Regions from separate parts of the Homo sapiens genome. Here regions 1 and 3 are each linked to region 2. The links are contacts of gene promoters, found by promoter capture Hi-C in blood cells and fetal thymus (Javierre and others, 2016). All regions are on one chromosome and are shown on one strand. Each heading gives the region's core, a stretch centred on a gene start or on the middle of the fragment in contact. The rest is flanking DNA. Distances are from core to core; before and after follow the strand shown.

Region 1 (3,199 bases), core at 38-2,537, 1.1 Mb after region 2:
CCAATGTGATTTTACCAATGGTCCAGCATGCCTATAACCCATGTAAGTATGGCTGAAAACCCACACAAGAACTTCGGGCAGCTCCATACCCAGGTGAGCAATATTCAGAGATTCTGGCGGTGACAATCACATGAACTGCAACTTATGCAGATTATGACACCTGCACCTGCAGCTGTGGAGACCTTCATGGATCCTGTGGGGCACACAGGCCCCCAGCAGCTCTGGGTCCTCGGCCCAGGACACAGAGGAAAGGCCCAGCCCAAGGCTGTGGCTGAACAGTGTCTGGACAGAAGAGCACAGCTGTTTGGGGGGATCTGATGGCCGGTCCCCCTGGATCCTCCAGAGAGCTTGGCAGGCGATACCACAGCTAAAGGCCAGAATGGAATAAGGAAAACATTTCCCCTCCGTTCCTTGGCCTAGAACAGCCTAGAGGAAAGGGCTTTGGGGGCCAGGAGCAGAGCCAGCTTCCTGGGTTGGTTTCCTAGTTCTAGAACACTGGCAGCCCAGGTGGCTACTGGGCCAAACCCTTGTTTAATGTGGCTCCTCTGTGCCTGTCTGAATGCTTCCCCAAGCTTCCAAGACCAGCTCATTGCCCTCTCCTTCCTCTTCCTCTCCTCCCTCCACACCCAGCATCCCCAGCCTCCCAGCTCTGCTCTGATCCCATTTTGCACACCAGCTGAGCCTTCTCACCCACTCACTGTTCCCGGGGCTCTACTCCCACACTGCATAGCAGCTGCCAGGGCCAATGCCCAGCATGCACACAGGTGCAGTGGATTTGAGGAGTACCTACTCAGTGCAGGGTCCAGTGAGGCCCTAAGGAAATAGAGAATAAACAAAATACGCAAAGACAAGCTCTCTTCTCCTAGCAAACTCTCCCTCCAGGGAGGAGGCCATAGGAACCGGAGGCTCCAGGGCAGGCAGACCTAGCTGCACATAGCAGCTCAGGAGTCCCTCTGGTGCTCATCACAGCTTCCTGAAGTCCCCACGTCTAGCTGGAGCTCCCACAACCAAGGGCTCATGCTGGCGAACATGGGGCCAGAGATGGATTGGGAGATACCCAAGGAAATGCAGCCCCATTGGAGCAGCAGAGGGGAGCAGGGAGCTCAGGGGATGCAAGGCAAGGGATTCCAGGTACACGGTGCTTCTGAGGCCCTGAGACGCCCCAAACCTCTTCCATTCTCAGCTGTCTTCCCAGCCAGGTCCCAAACCTCCAGGCTGCATTGCAGGGTGCTGGCGCCCTCTAGTGGAAAAAATGGCAGGTGCCCCCGGCTCCTTTACTGAGGAAGGAGGATTCAAGTTCCCAGGCAGGCACAAGCTCAGGGCAAGACTGTGCAGTGCAGGACACTTGCTTCCAGCCCCAGCATCCCTCCCCTTGTCCCTTCTCAGCATTTCCCCCTTCTTCCCACAGATCTCAGACACAAAGCCACGCATTCTCCCTCCCACTCTTCCCCAGTTTGCTTTGCCAATCTTATGTCTATCAATGTGTAAAATTTACACTGTAAATGAATAATAAGGGATAATATGGTGGGTTTTTTAGGTGCAGCTGGCACAGTCTCTGTTAGGAGTGAAGTTCCAACATGGTGATTTAGACATTAAAGAGGTATTTCTAGGCGGCACGCGAGGCACCGCTTTCCCCTTCTGAGAGGAAGTAGGCTTCTATACCATATGACTTGAAATCAGGAGCATTCCACTTTTCAAAGGCCAAGGTGTAACCAGTGGACCCTAAAGGGGAGTGAGGGAGATCCTGAGCTCACTGCCTAGGCAACATCTGAGAGGACCAAGCGGGCTTGGAGTCCCCTAGGCACAGCAATGGAGGGCGGGGGAGAAAAGCAATGACCCGCCCTCACCCTCACTCTGCAGCCACTGGAGGCATCCCTAGGTGCTCCCAAGACAGCAGGTGGCATGTGGCAAGAGAAGCCCATCCAGACCCATTGGCACCCATTTCTCCAACAATATCAAATCCCTATGCTTGTCAGAGAGGCCACTTCCCCATAGCCCAGGAAAAGCTTTTTAAGAGACACAACAGTGAATCAAGCACGGTTCCTGCCCTCGAGGAGTTGGGAGGCCATTCATCGAATGTCAGATCCAACTGCCAATCTCACACTACCCCTCCTGTGCTGTGCTGCACTAGGGCTGTCAAACACATCACACTTTACCTCCCAGACTGCACATGGCCTCAGGACCCCTCCCTCTCTGTGCTCTGGAGGCAGCTGTCCTCCACCCCACCCTAAGCCACTGGAGTTTACCTTGACAGTGTGCCCTATCCCTGTATGGTGGAGAGAGCCTGCTCACCGGTCTCCAGAATGCCCAAATCCACCCATTTCTCTGCGTCCCCACCCAAGCTACCAGCATCTCTTTCTGGACTATGGTTTCTTTTCCTCCCCTTCCACTCAGGACACTGTATACAGATCAGCGGAGGGAAAAAAATGCTCTTTAAAAAGCTTGAGTCTTCATTACCCCCCTTCAACAGCTTCCCTACCTGGCCCTCTGGCATCCCTCTCAGCTCAGATGCTGCCTTCAGCCTTGATATGGTTTGGCTGTGTCCCCACCCAAATCTTATCTTGAATTGTAGCTCCCATAATTACCATCTGTTGTGGGAGGGACCTGGTGGAAAATAACTGAATCATGGGGTCAGTTTCCCCCATACTGTTCTCGTGGTAGTGAATAAGTCTCACAAGATCTGAAGGTTTTATAAGGAGTTTCCTCTCTCGCTTGGCTCTCATTCTCTCTTGTCTGCCGCCATGTAAGATGTGCCTTTTGCCTTAATTGTGAGGCCTTCCCAGCCACGTGGAACTGTGAGTCCATTAAACCTCTTTTTCTTTAGAAGTTACCCAGTCTCAGGTATGTCTTTATCAGAGGCATGAAAACGGACTAATACAAGCCTTCTCTCAGCTTCTCCACCAGCCCAGTCTCTTCCCGCCTTAGGGTCCTCCTCACGCCATCCCCTCTGCCAGGGCAGCCCACTCCCACCCCACTAGCCCCTTGCCAACCTGGCTCTTTCTCAGTCTTGAGGCTTAGCTGAAACATCACCTTGCTCAGAGAAGCCTCGCCAGCTGGCACCCCACAACACACGACCACAGCACCCATGGGTTCCCCACACTGCCCTCGTGGTAGGCTGTGATTGTTTTCCTTACACTGTTTACCTTTAGCCCCATCTTGCCAGCTGGAATAGAAGCTCAAGGAGAGTTGAGATGTTGAC
Region 2 (3,053 bases), core at 437-2,936:
AGATTTTGAGACTACATGAACAGCAGCAGCACCAATAACTGTATCACTGGTGCGGGCTATAGACATCAGCTGGGAATGAAGGTGATTCTCAGGGCCCTTAATTTAGCCATCAGCCCCCAGCCAGACCTAAGCCTGCAGCTGGCTGCACAGAGAGGCAGCCTGTTCCATCCTTGGAATTCCAACTTAGGTGACTGCACAAGGCATTTTGGTTTAGTGGTTCCTTAAATAAGACGACATTCCTTTAAGTCTAATCTCTCTCCTGCTGAAATTTCCTACCCTCTTGGGTTTTACCATTAAACTGCTTGCTCTCATCTGAAAAGTGCAGCTAGCAGGGTGCAAGCTAGTGCTCTAGTGACCGTTAAAATCTATCCTAGGACAGCTAGCACGCACGGAAAAACTTGCCATTCGCCGCACACCCACTCCCCCCCGCCCCCACCGCTATTCTTATCAGAGAGAACATGGAAAATATTCTACTCCCTCTTCCCCTTATTGAAGGATGCTGTGTGTACATCTGAATGGGGGTGGGATGCGGGGCGGGAGTGGAGTCTAGCTTTCGGTCCTCAACAAAAACATAATGATTCCCAGCAAGCCAGAGCTGTGCAACCAAGGAGGCAGGATCCTGGCCTCTCTCGGATCTGCAGGAAGGGTGGGCTGTGCGGGTCCAGAGTGGGATGCCCGTTCTGGCCGGCGGTGCCTGCTGAGCCCTTCCTGATGTGACTTTATTAGACAAACCCCCACTCCCGCCAGGGGTAGACACACGAGTATCTGCTTTAGGAAGATTTCTGCAACACGGCAGGGTGCAATTCAAACTCTGGGTTCTCCTTTCCTGAGCTTAGAAACCAATTTGTTCGGAGATAGGAGAAGGCTCTGTTGGCAGAAGACCTAAGAGACGGGAGGAGGCGCCTGGCGTCAGCGGGTCGCTTCTCAGCCGTGACCACGAGCGGCCAGCAGGTGTCAGTGCGTCCTCGCTTTGCCCTGGCGCTCGGCTCCTGGACCCCTCCCCACCTCGGTCTAAGGGGGCGCGGTCCAGACCCCGGGTCTTGCGTTTCCCGCAGACAGCATCGCGGCTGGGAGGACACGTAGCCGCTTCTTCCCTAAGCGGAGGTCTGAACTCCGGCTTGTACCACTTCCCCGTGGGTGCTGTCCATTCCGCCCCAGGGGTTCCATCCGAAGCCGCGCCTTCCTCCCTCTCCAGGACCCCTTTCTCCCCAGCCTCCAGGAGCACCTGCGGACCGCGTCGGCTCTGGCCCGGAGCTGGGCTGCTCCAGACGTAACTCACACCGGAGGTTACTTCCCTCGATTTGGGCGGGGATTCCCTTCCATTTTTTTCTTCCCTTTTCTCCCAAGATCCAGCTTCTTGGGGGCACTCACGGGTGCCCGTTGCGTTCTGCTCCGTCGGCCCGGAGCTGCATGGCCAACTCCCAGCAGGGGCCGCTCCTCCCCTACCCCCCACCCCCGGGCTCCCTCTTTAAGTCTCTAGCTCAAGGTACCCGCCTCTCCAAAGGGCTCGTCCCGCCTGAGGGCAACGCTCCCCGAGGTCCAGCGCTAGGCGCGGGCGCTAGACTGGCGGAGGGGTGGTGCGAGGGGCGGGGGAGGGTCGGCTTCCCACGTGGGGGCTGACGCCGGCTGCTCAGCAACGCTTGCTTGATCCTGGGGCTATAAAACGAGTCCACCGTGAGCGCAGCGGAGCAGCAGCAGCTCCAGCTCGGTGCAGAAGCCCAGCAGCCGGCGTGCCGCCGCCCGGCCACTCCAGCGCCTTCTTCCCCGCCTTGCGCTCCTGCCCCAACTCGCGCTGTCGTCGGACCCCGGCCCATCCAGCAGCGCTCGGCGCCCACCAGGCGGACGCCCAGGAGAACCCCTGCCTCCGTCGCGGCTCCTGGAGAGCTGATCGTTCACCTGCCCCGGCCCGCCTGAGGACGGGGGTGCCTTCATGCGGCCCCCACACTCCTCACCCCGCCGCCGCCGCCGTCCCGGAGCTCCGCACAGTGTGCCCCAGCCCCAGCAGGGCGCACAACTTTGGAAGTCTCGCGGCGCTCCGAGAGGCGGCAGAGTCCGCGCCCCAGCCCCGGGCCGGGCCGGGCCAGAACCGCAGCGTCTGGGGGAAGCCAGAGAGTCGGTAATCGCTTCGGGGATGTAAGGCGACAGACATAGGACCCCCGAGCTCGCATCAGCACCCTTCGGCTGCCTCCCGGGGTGGGGGCGGGCCCCGCACACGGTAAGACCTCTTGCTTTCGCTCAGGCTCAAGATTCAAGATACAGATATTGATATGTATATATATATTTAATTTCCTGTCATCCTTCCAAGTTATCAGGCCACCGATGATTTTTGTTCTCCCTTCTTGAAGAATAAATCTCTCTTTACCCATCGGCTCTCCCTACTCTCTCCCGCCGCTTAGAAATAAAACTTGGCTGTATTAGGAGCTCGGAGCAAGAAGGCGCCCACCGAGAGCGTCTGAAGCGCGAGCCAGGCGCAGTTCGCGGGACCCGGGCCATGGGCCGCTAGCGGTCCTCCAGTTCGGGCCCGGCCTCCCTGCGGCCCCCTCCCTATGTGAGCCGCAGCCAGGCGAGCGGGGCGCCGGAGGAAGAGGAGGACCCACGGGCGCCGGGCCGGAAGGCAGCTGGCAGCAGGCCCAGGCCAGCGGGCGCCCGCGTTCATGTTCCGCCAGGAGCAGCCGTTGGCCGAGGGCAGCTTTGCGCCCATGGGCTCCCTGCAGCCGGACGCGGGCAACGCGAGCTGGAACGGGACCGAGGCGCCGGGGGGCGGCGCCCGGGCCACCCCTTACTCCCTGCAGGTGACGCTGACGCTGGTGTGCCTGGCCGGCCTGCTCATGCTGCTCACCGTGTTCGGCAACGTGCTCGTCATCATCGCCGTGTTCACGAGCCGCGCGCTCAAGGCGCCCCAAAACCTCTTCCTGGTGTCTCTGGCCTCGGCCGACATCCTGGTGGCCACGCTCGTCATCCCTTTCTCGCTGGCCAACGAGGTCATGGGCTACTGGTACTTCGGCAAGGCTTGGTGCGAGATCTACCTGGCGCTCGACGTGCTCTTCTGCACG
Region 3 (3,289 bases), core at 423-2,922, 1.2 Mb after region 2:
CTGTGCAACAGAGCCAGACCCTGACTCCAAAAAATGTTTTGTTTTGTTTTTTTAAATAATGCATAGCTGAAGGTCCAAATTAAGAGTAGACACCTGATTCCTAGCCTGGGGCTCTTTCTACCAACTCAAGCTACCTCTAACATGGGCATGTCTTCCTAAATTCATGTACTAAAAGATGATACAATTATCTGGTGTAAAGGAAGCTACTATTGAGAAAGTTGTTGGAGAGGAATGCGTAATTTAAGTCATAACCTACTCTATGGGTGGTGAGTAATTTTTATCCCACAGTCCAGTCCAAATTGATTAGCCTAACCCTTGGAATGCTGATTTGAAAAAGACTCTGAAGCCATGTCAAAACTCCCTGGAAACAAGGGCCTTAATTGATTAGTGACACCTGAGATAGACAAAGAAGGCAGTAGAATTATTAATATCTGATCCATTTTTGTGGCATTTATGAAATAAAGGAAAAATTTCTCACTCCACTGTAACCAGCATGTAGTACAGTGTTTTGTGTATGGTAAGCACTGAGTGAGTGTATGAGGAAGGAAGAAAGGAAGGAAGGAAGGGAGGAAGGGAGGAATGGAGGAAGGGAGGAGGGAGGAAGGGAATGAGTCACATAGAACCAATCACGGCCATATAGATTTAATTTTGTTTTGTTTTGTTTTTTAGAAACAGGGTCTCGTTCTGTCACCCAGGCTGGAGTGCAGTGGCACAATCATAGCTCACTGCAGCCTTGACCTCCAGGGCTCAAGCAATTCTCAGCCCCCCTAAGAAACTCAAACTACAGGCTCACACCACCACGCCTGGCTAATTTTTTATTTTATTTTATTTTTTATAGATACAGAAACTCACCATGTTGCCCAGGCTGGTCTTGAACTCCCGGCCTCAAGGGATCCTCCTGCCTTAGCCTCCTAAATCACTGGGATTACATGCATGAGCCACCATGCCCAGCAGCTCTAAAATCCTAATGGTTAACTGAGTGAGAGCAAATATCTGTTGCACATCTAACTCACCCTCTGGGACTGGCCTCTCGTAAAGTTTTCTTGATGGAAGAGAAACTGGGTCTTTTCTCCAGAGATTCATCCCAACACACCCTCACCATGGCCACGATCTTTTCATTGCCCTTCTCCTCGGGCAGGGAAGGTTGCAGTGGGACTGCTGCTGCAGGGTCTTTGATTTGGTTGATGATTTCTGAAATTCATGTTGGGTTTAGACAGCCAAACATCAGAACTTTGTGCCACTTACTACACTTCATTTTCAATAGTAATTGTGCTCTTATATTTGTAAACTGAGTTTTTAAATAAATAGAACAGATTAGAATTCCAAAGTAATCTGGATATTTTAATAGGAATACTCTGAGAATCTGCCTGGAAAATGAACAATTCTAATGAAAAACATATAAACAAACATCCTCCTAATTAATTTGTTTTCAAATCAAGATTTTTTAAAATAGAACTTTGCTTGAGGAGAAGCATATCTCTATATGATTTCAGGAATGTATAGGCATTTCGTGTTGGAAACCCCCAAAGCGCGCTTCATGCAATTTTGTTAAATTTTCTGTAATATGTCGCAGAAATGCTATTTTAACACGTAATAAATGTTACCATCATGTCCTGCCTCTCTGTCCGATTTTCTAAACCTAATTTTTCCCACTTCTTCACTGGCTCCTACTGACATTTATTAAACATTCTGCTTAACCAGATGTTGTCAAGAAAATAATATTTTGAGAACAATGTATACATGTTTTGGCATAAAAATAAAAATACTGTGTGTGCAACAACATGGATAAGTCTTACATGCATTATTACTAAGTTAGAGAAACCAGTCAGAAAAGGCTGTGTACTGTATGATTCTATTTACATGGCACCCCAGAAGCAACAACACGCAAGCAGCAGTGGGCATATCTAGCATCATTTCTTTCTTTCTTTCTTTTTTCTTTTCTTTTTTTTTTCTTTTTTTTTTTTTTTTTTTTGAGATAGACTCTGGCCCTGTTGCCCAGGCTGGAGTGCAGTGGTGTGATCTCCGCTTACTGCAACCTCCGCCTCCTGGGTTCAAGCGACTCTTCTGCCTTAGGTTCCCCAGTAGCTGGAACTACAGGCATGCGCCACCACGCCCAGCTAATTTTTGTACTTTTAGTGGAGATGGGGTTTCACCATGTTGGCCAGGATGGTCTCGATCTCTTGACCTCGTTATCTGCTTACTTTCTAATACCTTTCTCCAACAAAAGAAGTCATGGCTTCTTGGAGAATTGACTGCATCTAGCACTGGGGCAGGAGATATGCAAAATGAGACTTTCTTGTCTTCCCAGAAATTAAGGAAATATACATTCTAGAAAAGACAAAATTTTAGAGACAGAAAACAGATCAGTGTTTTCCAAGAGTTTGAGGAGCAGAGAGCGTTGACTAGGTGAAGTGCAGGGGATAATTTTAGGATGAGGAAACTTTTCTGTAGGATACTATAGTGGTGGATAGATGACACTATGTATTTACCAAAACCCATAGAGCTTAATAGCACAAAAGTAAGCCATAAGGAAAGCAAACTTTAAAAAATACCAATTGGGAAATTAGGCAACCCCAAGATAGAATGCAAACAGCGATAAAAGAATCTAACAGTGTTACAAATATATGGCATAACCTTACTGAATGGGATGAGTGAGAAAGAATGCTGACCTACATCGCTTGTGAAATCACTAGAAACTTTCTAAGACTAAAGGCAAAAGGAACTATTCATAATCATCGTACTCTAGTTGGTAAAACTGTTTCTCATGGGGATGCAGATTAACAAGTCTAAAATCACCGAACACACACATAGGGATCGAACAAAGTACATGGATGGTGGATGGTGGGAGCCAGTATCTCAATGTTGGAATTTACAGAAAAGTAATGGGGAAGACTGCAATGAACCGTGATGGCGATGAGTTAGATTTGGAGACGTCAATGGGAACTCATGTTTAGTTTAATGTAGATGCAGATATATGTGTATGGGTGCATGTGTAGTTATAGAGATATGTATACATACGGGTTAGTATGCACACGCATTTCCCTACTCTGTCCACTGAGAAGGCCCATAAGCAACAACACTCCGGTAGCAATGAGCGTATCTAGTGTCAGCTCTAACTTTCTAATACCTTTCTCCAACAAAAGCAGCCAGGGCTTGTTGGAGAGAACTGGTTGCTTCTAGCACTGGCGCAGGGATATGCAAAATGAGACTTTCTTGTCTTACCAGAAAGTAAGGAAATACACAGAAACAAGACAAAACACCACAGCGATGGCTACATGTCAAAGAGACA

The links. The method cuts DNA at HindIII sites, captures the fragments that hold promoters and counts their contacts. A CHiCAGO score of 5 or more calls a contact.
Region 1: a fragment that was not itself captured here is called in contact with the fragment with the promoter of ADRA2A in region 2 in 4 of 17 cell types (M2 macrophages, endothelial precursors, megakaryocytes and 1 more); the score reaches 6.7 in M2 macrophages.
Region 3: a fragment that was not itself captured here is called in contact with the fragment with the promoter of ADRA2A in region 2 in 3 of 17 cell types (M2 macrophages, M0 macrophages and M1 macrophages); the score reaches 7.8 in M2 macrophages.

The regions. Positions count from the first base shown.
Region 1 is chr10:112,136,334-112,139,532 of GRCh38, forward strand. No RefSeq gene overlaps it. Among named protein-coding and RNA genes, the nearest start is that of GPAM, 46 kb to the right of the region's middle. The HindIII fragment of the contact is 1,434 bases long and covers 571-2,004 here.
Region 2 is chr10:111,075,343-111,078,395 of GRCh38, forward strand. It overlaps ADRA2A (adrenoceptor alpha 2A), which reads left to right and starts at 1,687. Exons shown (of 1, transcript NM_000681.4): 1 at 1,687-3,053. The coding sequence starts at 2,655. RefSeq lists a silencer at 1,650-1,699. The HindIII fragment of the contact is 6,739 bases long and covers 1-3,053 here.
Region 3 is chr10:112,316,866-112,320,154 of GRCh38, forward strand. It overlaps the pseudogene GUCY2GP. Among named protein-coding and RNA genes, the nearest start is that of MIR6715B, 19 kb to the left of the region's middle. The HindIII fragment of the contact is 4,938 bases long and covers 1-3,289 here.